Regions from separate parts of the Homo sapiens genome. Here region 1 is linked to region 2. The links are contacts of gene promoters, found by promoter capture Hi-C in blood cells and fetal thymus (Javierre and others, 2016). All regions are on one chromosome and are shown on one strand. Each heading gives the region's core, a stretch centred on a gene start or on the middle of the fragment in contact. The rest is flanking DNA. Distances are from core to core; before and after follow the strand shown.

Evidence for each region. Contacts are between HindIII fragments. The CHiCAGO score rates a contact against its expected background, and 5 or more counts as called.
Region 1: a fragment that was not itself captured here is called in contact with the fragment with the promoter of RPP38 in region 2 in 1 of 17 cell types (erythroblasts); the score reaches 5.3 in erythroblasts.

The regions. Positions count from the first base shown.
Region 1 is chr10:14,599,163-14,606,025 of GRCh38, forward strand. The region is part of intron 2 of FAM107B (family with sequence similarity 107 member B); the gene reads right to left. Among named protein-coding and RNA genes, the nearest start is that of MIR1265, 170 kb to the left of the region's middle. RefSeq lists enhancers at 31-120, 2,808-2,977 and silencers at 4,647-4,866, 5,097-5,596. The HindIII fragment of the contact is 2,742 bases long and covers 3,520-6,261 here.
Region 2 is chr10:15,094,606-15,101,841 of GRCh38, forward strand. RPP38 (ribonuclease P/MRP subunit p38) reads left to right here and starts at 2,750. Exons shown (of 3, transcript NM_183005.5): 1 at 2,750-3,161. It overlaps RPP38-DT (RPP38 divergent transcript), which reads right to left and starts at 2,714. Exons shown (of 2, transcript NR_160789.1): 1 at 2,482-2,714; 2 at 780-2,260. RefSeq lists enhancers at 2,295-2,866, 3,168-3,257, 3,318-3,457 and a silencer at 2,668-3,027. The HindIII fragment of the contact is 10,027 bases long and covers 1-7,236 here.

The DNA.
Region 1 (6,863 bases), core at 3,641-6,140, 490 kb before region 2:
TTCTACCTTGTTTCTACGGGAGACTTGACAACACATACATAACCTGAGGGTTGCTGGGGCTCAGTGTCCCCCCCCACTTCAAGACTTCTAAGTCTCCCGACTGCTAAGGACTTAAGCAGCCCCACCAGGAAGAGGCCTGCTGAGCAGCCCAGAGGGTCCCCTGCCCTCTCACAGCCTCTAAGGGGGTGCTGTTCTTACACCCCAGTCTCTCTGCCACAGCAGAAACCCCAAGACTTTGCTGTGTGGAGGAAACATTATTGTCTCCAACCCATGTGACTTACACACGCCCCCAACACCACTACAGACCACAGGGCCTGTTTTAGGACTATTCACGTGTGCTTAACTCACATCCTTGGTAGGCTAGGCCTGGGGGCTCACGTCTATAATCCCAGCACTTTGGGAGGCCAAGGCAGGAGGATCACTTGAGCCCAGGAGTTCAAGATCAGCCGGGGCAACATAGTGAGACCCCATCTCTACAGTTTTTTAAAAAAAGATATGCTTAACTCACACCTTTGGTAAAACATCTCTGGTCAGGGAATATAAAAGAATGTAGAATCTGCGGCTGAATAATGATTTCTATTTCCATAGAACATACACACTCAACACAACTCCCTCTTTGTGGGGAAGCCCTTCTTCTTTCTCAGTGCCAGCGTGTACCCTGCTGTGGGATCACTGCTATTCCTTGATCTACAAAAAAAAAAAAAAAAACTCTTTTCCATCACATACATCTCATGAATCTCAGAACTCAATTTTACTCTTTAAATATTTTTAAAGCTGAAAGATTTATTTTCACTTAAAAACAAAAAGTCAGTCCCAAAGTCAAGAGTTCACCTGGTGTCAAAGCAACATTACCTCCTTTTTCTGCATCTCTCTCCCCGTTTTCCTTCCTACAGCTCATCTGAGTCCGAATAATGTTCTTAAATAAGTCTTCTCACTCTTTCCCCACAAATTCCTCTTATCTTTTCATTTGCAACAAAACCTCTGGTGGGCACAGCTGTAGTTGGGTGCCCTTTGCATGATACAAGTCCTCACTTCTGGAATCCAGGCCAGCTCAGGACACCACGTCCTACCACAACCGGCTTCCCAGGGCTACTGGCCATGAGGTTTACCTTCAGCAAGGACACTGGGACAGAACCATACGGTTTCCCGATCCACCTTCAATCCCAAGCGACAAAGTGTCCGAACCCCACAGCCAAATTCCAGACAGAACTGAACAGTCCACCTCATCTGTTCAGCTAAGCCCCTACCAGCAGGCTCTGAACTGATGGGCGCTAGGCAAATCCCTATGCAGCTCCATGGCCCGCCGCACCCACCCACCCTGACATTTCCACCATCAGAAACCCAACCCCCACCTTCAATGGCATTGACATCATTCTTTCTGAGATACCTTAATTCACCAAGCAGTGCTTTCCCTTCCCAGCTCTTAACTGTAATTAAACAATTTTTGTGTAATTTTGTATAATTCTTTTTTATGTATATGTATATGTATTTTTTAGCGACAGGCTCTCACTCTGTCACCCAGACTGGAGTGCACTGGCGTGATCACAGCTCACTGCAGCCTCGAACTCCTGGGCTCAAGTGATCCTCCTGCTTCAGCCTCCAGGGTAGCTGGGACTACAGGCATGCACCACCACTCCCAGCTAATTTTTAAAAATGTGTTGTAGAGATGGGGGTCACTATGTTGCCCAGCCTGGTCTCAAACTCTTGGTCACAAGCATTCCACCTGCCTCAGCCTCCTGAGTAGCTTCAACCACAGGAGCGCGCTGCCACACCCAGCTAATTTTTCGTAGAGATGAGGGTCACTATGTTGCCCAGGCTGGTCTCACACTCCTGGCCTCAAGCAGTCCTCCTGCTTCAGCCTCCCAAAGCACTGGGATTACAGGCACAAGCCACTGTACCCAGCCCAGTTCTTTAAATATCCTCCTCACCTGCCTTATAGTCTTGTTAACAGCAGTAAACCCAGTGCCTGGCACATGACGGGCACTGAATGTCTGGTGAATGGAGAGTAAATGACAAGCAAAGCCTCCCCCATCAACCTTAAAATAGCCCCTTGTCCATGCACCATAACTAAATGGCAATCTAATCCAGCTTGCCAAATAATCTTTCTTTCTTTCACTGATGGGGTACCGGAATTAGGGATATGAGATGGGTAAGACTGTCCATTCCTCTTCAGCACGTTTCCTAAGTACTTAGGGTGAGGGAAACTTCAGATGGGTCAGGCCCAGCCCTTCTTGAACTAGAAAGGAAAAGGGGAGAAAAATGGTTTGTTTCAAGAAGGAAAAGCAAAAATAGGCCATGATTAGACAAGGGAACTATACAAGGAAATGCAGCAAGGTCTCATGAGGTCATCCCAAGGCCACACTCGACCCCATGATGCACACAGAGGACATCCCACTCCACAGCAGCTTTCCCACCCCCGAGTGTGCCCCACAGCACACTAGCACCCATAGTCACCTTCTCTAGGCTGAAAGAAGAGTGACAACTCCCCCAGATAGCCGGGGACTTCTACAAATGCCCAAAATCTAGATCTCACTTACCCAAACTCCCAACTCATTTCCTTAAAACACTTGCACACAGAATTCTGGAGGGAAGGGGCAGAAGGTAAGTTAGGAATAACATTAAGCCATATTCCTCATCTTTCCTCTTTCCATCAGGAGAGAAGTCTTCTACCCCTCCACCATTCCCAAAGAAAATCAGTAAAACTCTTTTCCACCTTTACTTGTGAGATTTTAAACAATTAACAGTCAAAGGAAAGATTCGATGAATGAATGAATGAATGACGGCGTCCATCCTCCCACATCAGGAACAAGATTTCACATGTCAGTTTCTCAGAAGCGCAAATCAAGTCCATTTTTAACCACCCAAGGAAGGGGATCTCCAGTCCCCTGGGGTAGGAGATTGTGACATTTCCTATTGGAGCTTCGTTTGACTTTTGCAGACAGAAACACATCACGACTCCTGAAGGAATGCCGATCATCAGAGCAGACTGCATGCATGACTCATTCACTCACAGGCTACTACTGCACCGCAACACTCCCCTGAGCGTGTGTGCAGATTAAAGCGCCCCGAGTGTCAGGAACTGCAACAAAAATGCACCTGAGTGGACACAGCCACAACTTCCTTCTTGTAGATTCTTCTAACTTCAAAATGTATTGCATCATCCTAATGATCAACCTACTTCTAAACGGTTGTCTCAAAGACCTCTATTTTGCATATTAGAGAATTCAAAAGTCCAAAAATGTTACAAGAGGAAAATAAAAGTATGTAATGACAAAAGCGTCCAGTGGCCAAATCTGTGGCTAAAGAACGATTTTATTTTAAAAGAACATACACACTCAACACAACTCACGATTCTCAGGAAAACCCTTATTTTACTTTCTCAGTGCAAGGTCTTTAAGAAGCCAGCATGCACCCGGTTGTACAATCACTGCTATTCCTTGTTCCACAAACAAGAATTCCTTTCCATCACATATTTCTTATGAATCTCAGAACACAATGTTACCTTTAAAATATTTTTAAAGCTTAAAGATTTCATTTAAAGACAAAAGTCAATCCCAAATGACTCCTGAATTCAAAAATATAGTCCATGAAACTTTTTTGTCAGCCCATTCTTCCAAATAAAGTGGAAATTTACATTGTTTTTCCTGTTTCTTTCTTCTCCCTTCTGTACAGGTGGTTATATGCAAACCTATAAGAAAATATATTTCAAAACAACTTGTCCGTATTAATCTTGGATGTAAGTGGCATACCAATATTGTAGAATTATCATGATTAAATATATTTTAGGCTGATGTGGCTGGTCAGTAATGCTCTCATTTACCACCCCACCCTCTTTCCCACACACACACACACACACACACACACACACAAACACACTATGGCTGCCAAGTCATAAATTAAGCAAAGATGCCTTCATCCTTAGGGTGTGTTTGGGTGGTGAGCATATGAGTGGTTTTTTTCTATATATTTTCAATTTTTTAATTAATATATAAAATTTTCTCATGAAAAGTTTTAAACCGGAAACCAGCAGCGCTAAGAAATCTTCTCTGGACAGGTAGCCCAGACACTATTTCAACTTAAAGCCACTTGGATAGATAGAATTTCCAAAGTGATGTTAGGAAAACGTGGCTGGAGGAGAAAACCGATGTACTTGATAGCAAGAAATCGCAAGTTTAAGAATGTGAAGTCCAACAGCCCTCATTCCGTTTTTCTTTGACCCCTCAAAATCGCACCCATCCTATCAAGTAACTTTGCTCCGCTGTCATTGCCTAAAATCTTTGGGAGGGAGGAAGGAAGCAGGCTTGGTACCTTGCAGCAGAGAATGAAATCTACAGTTTACCCTCTCAACCTAATTCCTCTTGCAGATTTCACAAGTGGTGGACACCATCCCCTACATAACACTAACACTTGGCCATACCCATCAGTGCCACCTCCAAGGGACCTAAAGATGCCTGGGGGAAATTACGGAACCCAAATTGAATTAGGACTCCTTGTGTGTGTTACACCACCCCATATGCTGGGTTCACTGGAACAGGGGAGAAAGAGAAGAGGCAAAAGAGGAAAAGTTACTTGCAGACTGGAGTCAGTGTCACGGCCACCGTCGGCGCGGGGCAAACCTCCCCGGCCCCGGCTTTGTCTGCCTGGCGGGGGCTGGCGTCGGGGCGCGACCCGGTCCACGCCGGGCGCCGCGGGGCGAGGGGCGCCGAGGGCGGGCATACGGCGCACACGGCCAGGCAGTGCACACCGCGCCGGGTAGGGCTCCCCCGCGGCAGCGCCGAGAAGGCAACAATGAGCCGGGCGGCCGCTGGGCCCCTTCCCCGCAGCGGCCCCCGCCTCCGCGGCGCCCCCCGCACGGCCCCGCCGCGTGCCCGCCCTGAGCCCCGGCACCTCCCGGGCGCCGCGCGGGGTGACCCGTGGTCCCCGTACGCCCGCTGCCCTCCCGCGCACGGGGACCCCCCACCCGCCCGGCCGCCCGCCCGCCGAGAGGGTCCCCGGAGCCGGGGTCGGGCAGGGCCGCCGCCCGCCTCCCCGCGCCCCTCGTCTTTGTGTGGAAAGTAAGTGCGGGAGGCGAACCTACCTCGGCGCGCGCACAAAGGCGCGCGGCTCCCTCCCAGCTCGCTCCCGGCGCCCGCGGCGGCGCCCAGCGGCCCGACTGCTCGGCGGCGGCCCGAGGCGGCGCGAGGGCGGCTCCGGGGGCGGCGGCCCGGCCCGCAAGCCAGTCCGGCGCAGGGCGGCTCTCGCTCCCCGCGGCCCCGCGCGTCCGAATTAAGCGGCGGGGCGGGGAGGGGCGGGGCGGCAAGGCCACGCCCCCAACGCGCCCCGCCCTGGCAGCCCCGCCCCCGCCTTCCTTCCACGGCTCGCGCGCGTCGGGCGGAGATCCAGAAAGGCCGGGCATCCGCGCCGGGAGGGGCACCAGCCGGGGCTGCAGCGCTCGGCCTCCGGGACTCGGTGGGAGCGAGGGCTGGAGGGAAAGCGCGGCGGCCCCGGATGACCGGGAAAGTGGGAAGGCGGCCGCGTGGGTCACAGCCACAAAGCTCCGGGGCGCTCACTCTCCTTTTTTCTCACTCCCTCGTTCCCTCGCTCTCTCCCTCTACCTCTCTGTCTCTCTCACACACACATTCTCTCTTCTTTTATCTCTTTCTCTCTCCCTTAATCTCTTTCTCTCTCATTGTCTCTCTTTCTCTCATTCTCTCCCTCATTCTCATTCTCTTTCATTCTTTCTCTCTCCTCTGTCTCATTCTTTCATTCTCTTTCTCTCTCTGTGCTCACCCCCATCTCTCTCTCTTATTCTGTCTCACACACAAAGTACCCAAGAGCGTCTCGCTCCTGGGTGTCCGGGCTCCGTCTCCCCGGCAAGTCTGCGATGCTAAGAGGCCGTCCCCATAGAAATCCTGCCAGTTCCTCTTGGAAGAAAACGCAGACAGAATCAGGGAGGAAAAGGAGACATTTGTTGTAATTGTACAAATTTACGGTCAAGCCAGGACCCAAAACCCGGTGACCTGGAGATTCACCCATTTTCCTCCCCTCCCTTCATCAAAGGGTAATTGGAAATTTAAATATGCAAGAAAGAAAGGGTTTATTCCGCCTCTTTGCTCTCTGATCTCCTTTTCTTCAGCTCTCTTACAAGTGCTTTTCTGGCCAACCCTAAGGCTCTGAGATTACAATCTACTTGAATCACAGCAGGTACAAAATCAGGGACTGAAACAGTTATCGGTTTCAGCGTAGCAAAAAGGACAACAGGTTCGTGGATTTTAGATCAAAAGCTTTTTAACTGTCTTGGCAACAGATGACTAAGGGCTTATTTATGGGGAAATTTTTCTGACTAAGACAGTTTGGGTCATAGTCATACTGAAAAGTCACATCAGTTACGGATTTTGGTAAACAAATTACTTATTCCAAAGATACCTATCACACACCATGCTCTAAGCCACAGCCTGCCAGCCAAGTAAGGGTCTGGCCATCCCTGGGTCCCTGGAACCCACTGAGGGGTGGAATCCCTGCCAGAGAACTTAAAGAAACTCCTTCCCAGCTGAGGAAGCTGAATTCCATGAACTTTATACATGGTGTTTCCTATGATTCTTCCTTCTCTCTCGTCCTTGAGTTGTGTTTCTGTTCTTAACAATGGCTCCACCAGTCACCAAACCAAAACCTAGGATCCAGCCTAAACTCTCTCCCTCCCCACATTGGCATCAACTCCAAGGTTTGTGCAGTGTGCACAATTCCTGGCTATCTCCCTCCCCCTCTGCTGGCACCGCCACTGTTGCCTTTGGGCTCAGTCACAATATGGTGGCAGGGGTTTCCTAACTGGCCCCAGCCTCTGGTCTAACACATGCTTTTCCTCTCAACTTTCTGGGGTGCAAGTG
Region 2 (7,236 bases), core at 1,500-3,999:
ACAGCCGGCCATCACTCAGAATCTTAAGTCATTGTCAAATAATGGAAAGCATACAAATCAAACAGTAGTCCAATTCTAGAATTAATATAAAAAGAAAGCTCTAATATACAAAGACCAAACAGATTTTACAGGATAAAACAACTGTCATTAAAAAGTAAAACTGGCAGGTGTGGTGGTGCACATCTGTAATCCCAGCACTCTGGGAGGCCAAGGTAGGAGCATTACTTGAGCCCAGGAGTTTGAGACCAGCCTGAGCAACATGGCAAGACCCCGTCTCTACAAAAAGTACAAAAATTAGCCAGGCATGGTGGCATGCTCCTGTAGTCCCAGCTACTCAGGAGGCTGAGGTGGGAGGATCACTTGAGCTTGGGAGGAGGTTGCAGTGAGCTGAGATGGTGCCACTGCACTTTAGCCTGGGCAACAGAGCAAGACCCTGTCTCCAAAAAAAAAAAACCGTTTCTTCAGAATAGGATATCAAATATGTAAAGTAATAATTTGAGAAACATGAAAAAGCGTTATGTGTAAAGAAAATCAGAAGACTTAATCTGTATTAGTTTAATGTAAAAGCATGCACATATGTGAAACAAAGTAGAAGGGAACACTAAAGAAAAAAATGGGTGTGATTGGGTCATGGGAGAATGTTTTTTACTTTTTGGTTGTAATGTTTGTGTGATACAAGAGGGACAGAAATTACTTTCGAAATGTACTTGTTAATTTTAGCAAAATCCTCGTGGAAATTATACTGCTAGTTTTAAAATAAAACACAAGCACTAAAATAATAAAGGTTATGTTTCATTTTTATTAACTTAGTTTTGCCACGGTTGAGACTGGATTTGCCATAGTTCAATTTATCAAGCACTTAACTATGTGTTCCGCACATAATAATCATCTTAGCATAGAGGAACATGTCTTCTAATCCGCACAAGAGATACTATTTTTATCACGTCATAGAGGAGGTTAATAAACTTGCCTAGGTCATAAGATCTTCAGTTGATGAAGTTAGGATTTCAACCCAGAGCCAAGTAATGTAATGGCTGATGTTTTCCACAGAGAAAATGTAAGCCGAGATGATGCTCAAACTATAAATCTGGAACCTTAGGGGGACAAAAACGTATGGATGTCTCCTTCCCATTACTTTAGCATTTTAATTAGATTCCTGTGTCTCTATTTGTCTTTGGAAATGCAAGCTGCTTGCAGTTCATCATAGCTAACTCACACAATTCATTTTATGAAACACAAACCTGTTCTCACAAACTCACTGTCATCTCTTTTTAATCTTTCTAATTGTGATAAAAATCATACTGCACTTTACCCTGTGTAACCTCCAATGATCTTTGACCAAAAGCCAAATCTTTTTTTTGTTGTGTTTACTTATGGACAGTTAGGTTCTACATAGGTACTTAAACATGAAAATTGAAATCATAGAGGCTGGGCACAGTAGCTCATGCCTGTAATCCCAGCACTTTGGAAGGCCGAGGTGGGCGGATCACCTGAGGTCAGGAGTTCGAGACCAGCCTGACTAACATGGTGAAACACCGTCTGTACTAAAAATACAAAAATTAGCTGGGCTGGTGGCCCGTGCCTGTAACCCCAGCTACTCCGGAGGCTGAGGCAGGAGAATCACCTGAACCTGTGAGGCGCTGGCTGGAGTGAGCCAGGTTCGCGCCATTGCACTCCAGCCTGGGCAACAAGGGCAAAACTCTGTCTCAACAACAATAATAATAATAAATAAAAGAAAGAAATCACAGAAACTATACCAGAAAATAGGATACAAAACCAACAGTGAGGAGATTGAGAAAAGGAGGCAGATACGTAAAGAGGAAAAGGAAGGGGGCCCAAGTAAGGCCGGAAAAAGCGGGGAGAAGGAGGAGGCTCATTAGGTCAGAAGCAACCTGCCGTCTTCTAAGTTCTGGCCAAGGGTAGATCAACAGATCCAGATTCCTGAGCTTTAAAATGTTATTCGGCCGCTTCATCACTTGTCCCCGACTTTGCAGCGACTCCGATGGTAGCCTGAGTCTCCATTGCTTGGAGCAGCCACAGTGGACACTGGACGGGATATTCTGTGCAGCTGTTGCTGAACTCAAGGCAACTCTTACTGCCTTTCTCTTTTCGGGCTCAAGATTCCCTGCATTATTGCCCATAGGCATGTGTTTTACCCCATACTCCTTCTCCCTTTTATCTTGATTTTCGCGGTGCTGGGGAGTCTGCAGGGATTCCATGGCGACGGGCTCACTGGGACAGGGGCTGGGGTTGTGCGTCCCTGAGGCAAGGCAAATACAGAAAAGCGAATAGAGACAGAGGGCTAAGATTCCAAAGCACTGAAAGGTAGAAACTGGGTTAGAAGAGAGAGGGGAGCACAAACGCCCGGAGAGAGCGAGCCCTCGGGATACCATTGGCTATAGGCTGGCCTCCGAACAACTGGACGGTCCAAGTCCTGAGCGTCTGGTTACCCGGGCAACCGCATGGTCTCGCGATACATACCTCGCGCCTGCGCACTGCCCCTGTAGCGGGGGTGGGGGGACCCGGTCCGGAGACTCCACCCCGGGGCCTAAACTCGAGTCTAAAAGATTGGGCCTCGTTGTGTCGTTTCCGGGTCGCGCGACGCTGTGGGCCGCTTTCCCCTCTCCGGAGTGACCTAACACAGGATAACGAAACCTGCACTGCTCCGAGCGCTTCCTCCCCGGCCCGTCGCGTCTGCGAGGCGAGGCCGGGAGGCGAGGGCTCTGCGCACGCGCGGCGCAGGCGCACTGGGCGCCGGTGCTGTTGCCTTCAGGTGACCACGGATTCGCCATCGTGAGTTCCAGGTGGGCGCGCGGGGCCCACGTAGGGCAGGAGGCCAGCCCCGGGGGGATCGGGCCCGGGACTCTGCGGAATCTGGAGGCCGAAGCCCGCGCGCACGCAGGGTCTCTGCTGCTTCCCCAACGCCTGTTGCGTGGCCGCAGGACCCGCCGCCCTCCCGGTTGGGCCGCCCAGTCCCGGGCCGGGCGCGTGCACCCAGAGCTTCCGCGTTTCTAGTCCGGCTCCTCTGCTGGATTGCAGCGCCGGCTGGGCACCAGGAGTACAAAGCGAAAACCCCCGCCGGCCCTTCTGTTCTCCACGGTCTCCAAGGAGACACGGACAACAGAACAACACTTCCGTGTGCTAAATAGTAAAGCACCAAGGTACTCGATCCAGGGGCGGCGTGCAGTGGGGAGGTGAGCTTTGGGTCGGCCGTCGCCCCTCGGCTACCGGCGGGATCCAGAAACCGGGAGTCACCACCAATACCGTTCTCAACTTTACTTCCAGCTGGTCACTACTGTGTCGGGAGATTCTACCTTCTTTTCCGACTAACATGTATTTTTCTCCAGTCCTTTCTGCGGCGTCTCTAGTGCAGGCCACCGTCATTTCTAACCTGGACGACTCCAGGAGCGTCTTTGCTGCTCGGGGACTCTTCCTTTGCCCAGATCCACAAAGATCTATAACGTCTTTCTAATCACGACACCTCTGCTTTAGATGTTAAAGTTGCTTCACACTGGAACGCTTGCAAAGGTCTTCATTATCTGGTCCTTACCCACCTTTCCTAGTTTCTCACCGCTTTCTCTAGCATCTCTGCCCCAGCCACATTGAACTTATTTGAACGTGTTTTTTTTTTTTTTTTTTTTTTTGAGACATAGCAGTCGCCCAGGCTGGAGTGCAGTGGCGCGATTCCGGCTCACTGCAACCTCCGCCTGCCGGGTTCAAGCGATTCTCCTGCCTCAGCCTCCCGAGTAGCTGGGACTACAGGCGCCTGCCACCACGCCCGGCTAATTTTCGTATTTTTAGTAGAGACGGGTCACCACGTTGGTCAGGCTAGTCTCGATCTACTGACCTCAAGTGATCCGCCCGCCTGGGCTTCCCAAAGTGCTGGGATTACAGGCGTGAGCCACCTCGCCAGCCAACTTATTTCTTTTAATACTGAGATACCTTTCTTTACTCCATACTTCCTTTGGTAGGCATTGTTTAGATGTAGGTTAAGAGGTCCGGCCCGGCGCGGTGGCTCACGCCTGTAGTCCCAGCACTTTGGGAGGCCGAGGCGGGCGGATCACAAAGTCAGGAGATCGAGACCATCCTGGCCAACATGGTGAAACCCCGTCTCTACTAAAAATACAAGAATTAGCCGGGCGTGATGGCCCGTGCCTGTAGTCCCAGCTACTCGGGAGTCTGAGGCAGGAGAATCGCTTGAACCCTGGAGGCGGAGGATGCAGTGAGCCGAGATTGTGCCACTGCACTTCAGCCTGGCGACAGAATGAGACTCCGTCTCAAAAAAAAAAAAAAAAAAAAAAGTTCCTCTGTGAGGACTGCCTTTTCCCACCCCCCTCAACTAAGCTAGGCCTCTGCTGGATGTTCCCTAAGCATACTGTTCCCTGACCTTCATGTGCATCAGGCTTTATTGTATAATTACTTGCTAATATTTTTTCCTCGTGGACTCTAAGCTCATGAGGTCTGTGAGAAAAAATACTTAATCTTTATGGCCTGGCACATCGTGGATAATCGATAAATATTTGTTGAAGAAAGGAAGGGGCCTGCGGCTGAGGGTGGGAGTGGTATTCCAGGCAGAGGGACTAATGTGTATAAAGACTTGCAGGTGGGAAAATGCTGGCCTCATTAAATAGTATGTTGTTCGGTGTTGAGGACTTGTGCTTGGTGGGGCCTAAGGAGAAAGAGGGCCTAAGTGGGAGATTGAGCTGGAGTGTGGAGGGCCTTTTATGTCACATTAGAGTTTAGGCGGGGCATGGTAGCTCATGCCCTCAATCCCAGTACTTTTGGGGAGGCCGAGGCTACGGGATTGCCTGAGCCTAGGAGTTGAAGACCAGCCCAGGCAACAAAGCAAGACCTTGTCTCTATAGAATTTCTTTTTTTTTTTTTTTTAAGACGGAGTCTTACTCCATTGCCCAGGCTGGAGCACAGTGGTGCAATTACGGCTCATTGCAGCCTCCGCCTTCTGGGTTCAAGCAATTCCCCTACCTCAGCCACCCACCTAAGTAGCTGGGATTACAGGTGTGCACCAGCACTCCTGGCTAATTTTTGTATTTTTAGTAGAGACTGGGTTTCACCATATTTGCCAGGCTGGTCTCGAACTCCTGACCTCAAGTGATCTGTCCAGCTTGTCCTCCCAAAGTGCTGGGATTACAGGTGTGAGCCACCGTGCCCAGCCTATACAGAAAATTTAAAAATTAAAAAAATTTTCTGGGCTTGGTGGTATGCGCCTATAATCCCAGCTATTCAGCATGAGGCTGAGGTGGGAGGATTGCTTGAACCCAGAAGTTCAAGGCTGCAGTGAGCCATGATCGAACGACTGCACTACTGCCAGGTGACAGGGCAAGACTGTCTAGTAAAAAGAGTTTGCCCTTGATCTACAGGCAGCAGAGGCCTCTTGAGACAGCTCTAAAGGGCCCTCAGCAAAGCCTATTTTTCTCTCTTTCTCTAAAGCTATAAAATCTTATCAGTCAGTACTTTGTTTCTGGATTATATTGCGTGAGATTATGCTTATCCAGACTACTTGGCTCTCTTTATCGCCCCAGCAGATTCTGCAGGTGGGACAAGTTTATAGCCTGTTTTGTGATCCCTCTGGAGCATGATTTTAAGTATTTATTCTGTGGTGTTTGGATGTGGAGACATCATCTGACTTGCAGTTGGCAAGAGCTCTGCCCCATCCTATTTGTTTCACCCCCTGTCACTTATTTCCCTCTTCCTGACCACTTTGAACCTGATGCCAGCCCCTCACAGTCACTGCATTGCATCTGGATGAGCCACTTTTCTTCCTGATTTCCTGAGCTCTAGGGGAGCATAGAGATAATGGGGTCAGGGGACACAGTGTGGCCACCGTGAAGGAAGCAGCTTAGGCCCCAGAAGTCTCCAGGATTGCTGTACCGAGATGACCAGGGTGTGATCTCTCACCCTAAGGAGCTGAATTTGGCTTTTCTGTGGGAAAGTGTCTGGGAAGAATATCAGAGACCAATAGCGCTCAGGGGGCCCTTTCTCGGGGCTGTCCAGTGTGGAAACACCCTGTCCTACACCAGTGGTTCCTGATTCCGGCTCTGAATCAGATTCACGAGGGCAACTTTTTTTTTTTTTTTGATATGGAGTCTTGCTGTCGCCCAGGCTAGAATGCAGTGGCGCGATCTTGACTCACTACAACCTCCGTCTCCTGGATTCAAGAGATTCTCCTGCCTCAGCCTCCAAGTAGCTGGGATTACAGGCAGGCACCACCATGCCTGGCTAATTTTTTTGTATTTTTTAGTAGAGACGGGATTTCGCCATATTGGCCAGGCTGGTCTCGAACTCCTGACCTTATGATCCGCCCGCCTTGGGCTCCCAATGTGCTTTGGTTACTGGCGTGAGCCACTGCACCCGGCCTGGGGCAGCTTTTTATAAGCACAGATGCCCAGGCCTTATTATTGAAGATTCCAATTCAGTAGATCTGGGTTGAGGACCAAGCATCTGCATGTTTTAAGAAGCCACAGGTTATTTTTGAGGTGTAGCAAGGATTGAAAGAACAGAAAACTTGGATTTGGAAAACTAGTTGTGACTTTAGGCAGTGAGTCAGTTTCCTAATGCACACATTGGGGGATTCTATAGGAATGCTGTAAGAAGCAAATAATACATGGAGAGAGTGCTTTATACAGCGATACACTGCACAGACACACTTGCCTTCAACATCAGCTGCCAGCCTAGTAAGTGGTAGTATAAATGCAAAGGATATAACTTCCTTTAGTTTTGCCAGGTGGGTCCCTGTGATTCTAGCTGAGCCCCAGGAAGGAAGGGAAGAAAACTGAGGGAAGAGAAGGGAGTGTGTAGTTGCCTCTGGGAAGGATAAAAGGATATGCCCTCTGGACCAATAGTTTATAACATTTTCCCCATTAAGCATCCTTCTACTCATTTTTCCTCAATGGATTAGTATCTTTAAATTTCATTACATTTCCCTAGTCTTCATGGAATTGCCAGCCAGAGAAGTCAGCTCGGGGTCCCCCTAAAAAGGAGGACTGGCCGGGAGTGGTGGCTCGTTCCTGTAATCCCAGCACTCTGGGAAGCTGAGGTGGGTGAATCACCTGAGGTCAGGAGTTCGAGACCCGCCTGGCCAACATGGTGAACCCCATCTCTACTAAAAATACAAAAATTAGCCAGGCGTGGTGTTGGGCACCTATAATCCCAGCTACTCCGGAGGCTGTGGCAGGAGAATCGCTTGAATCTGGGAGGCAGAGGTTGCAATAAGCTGAG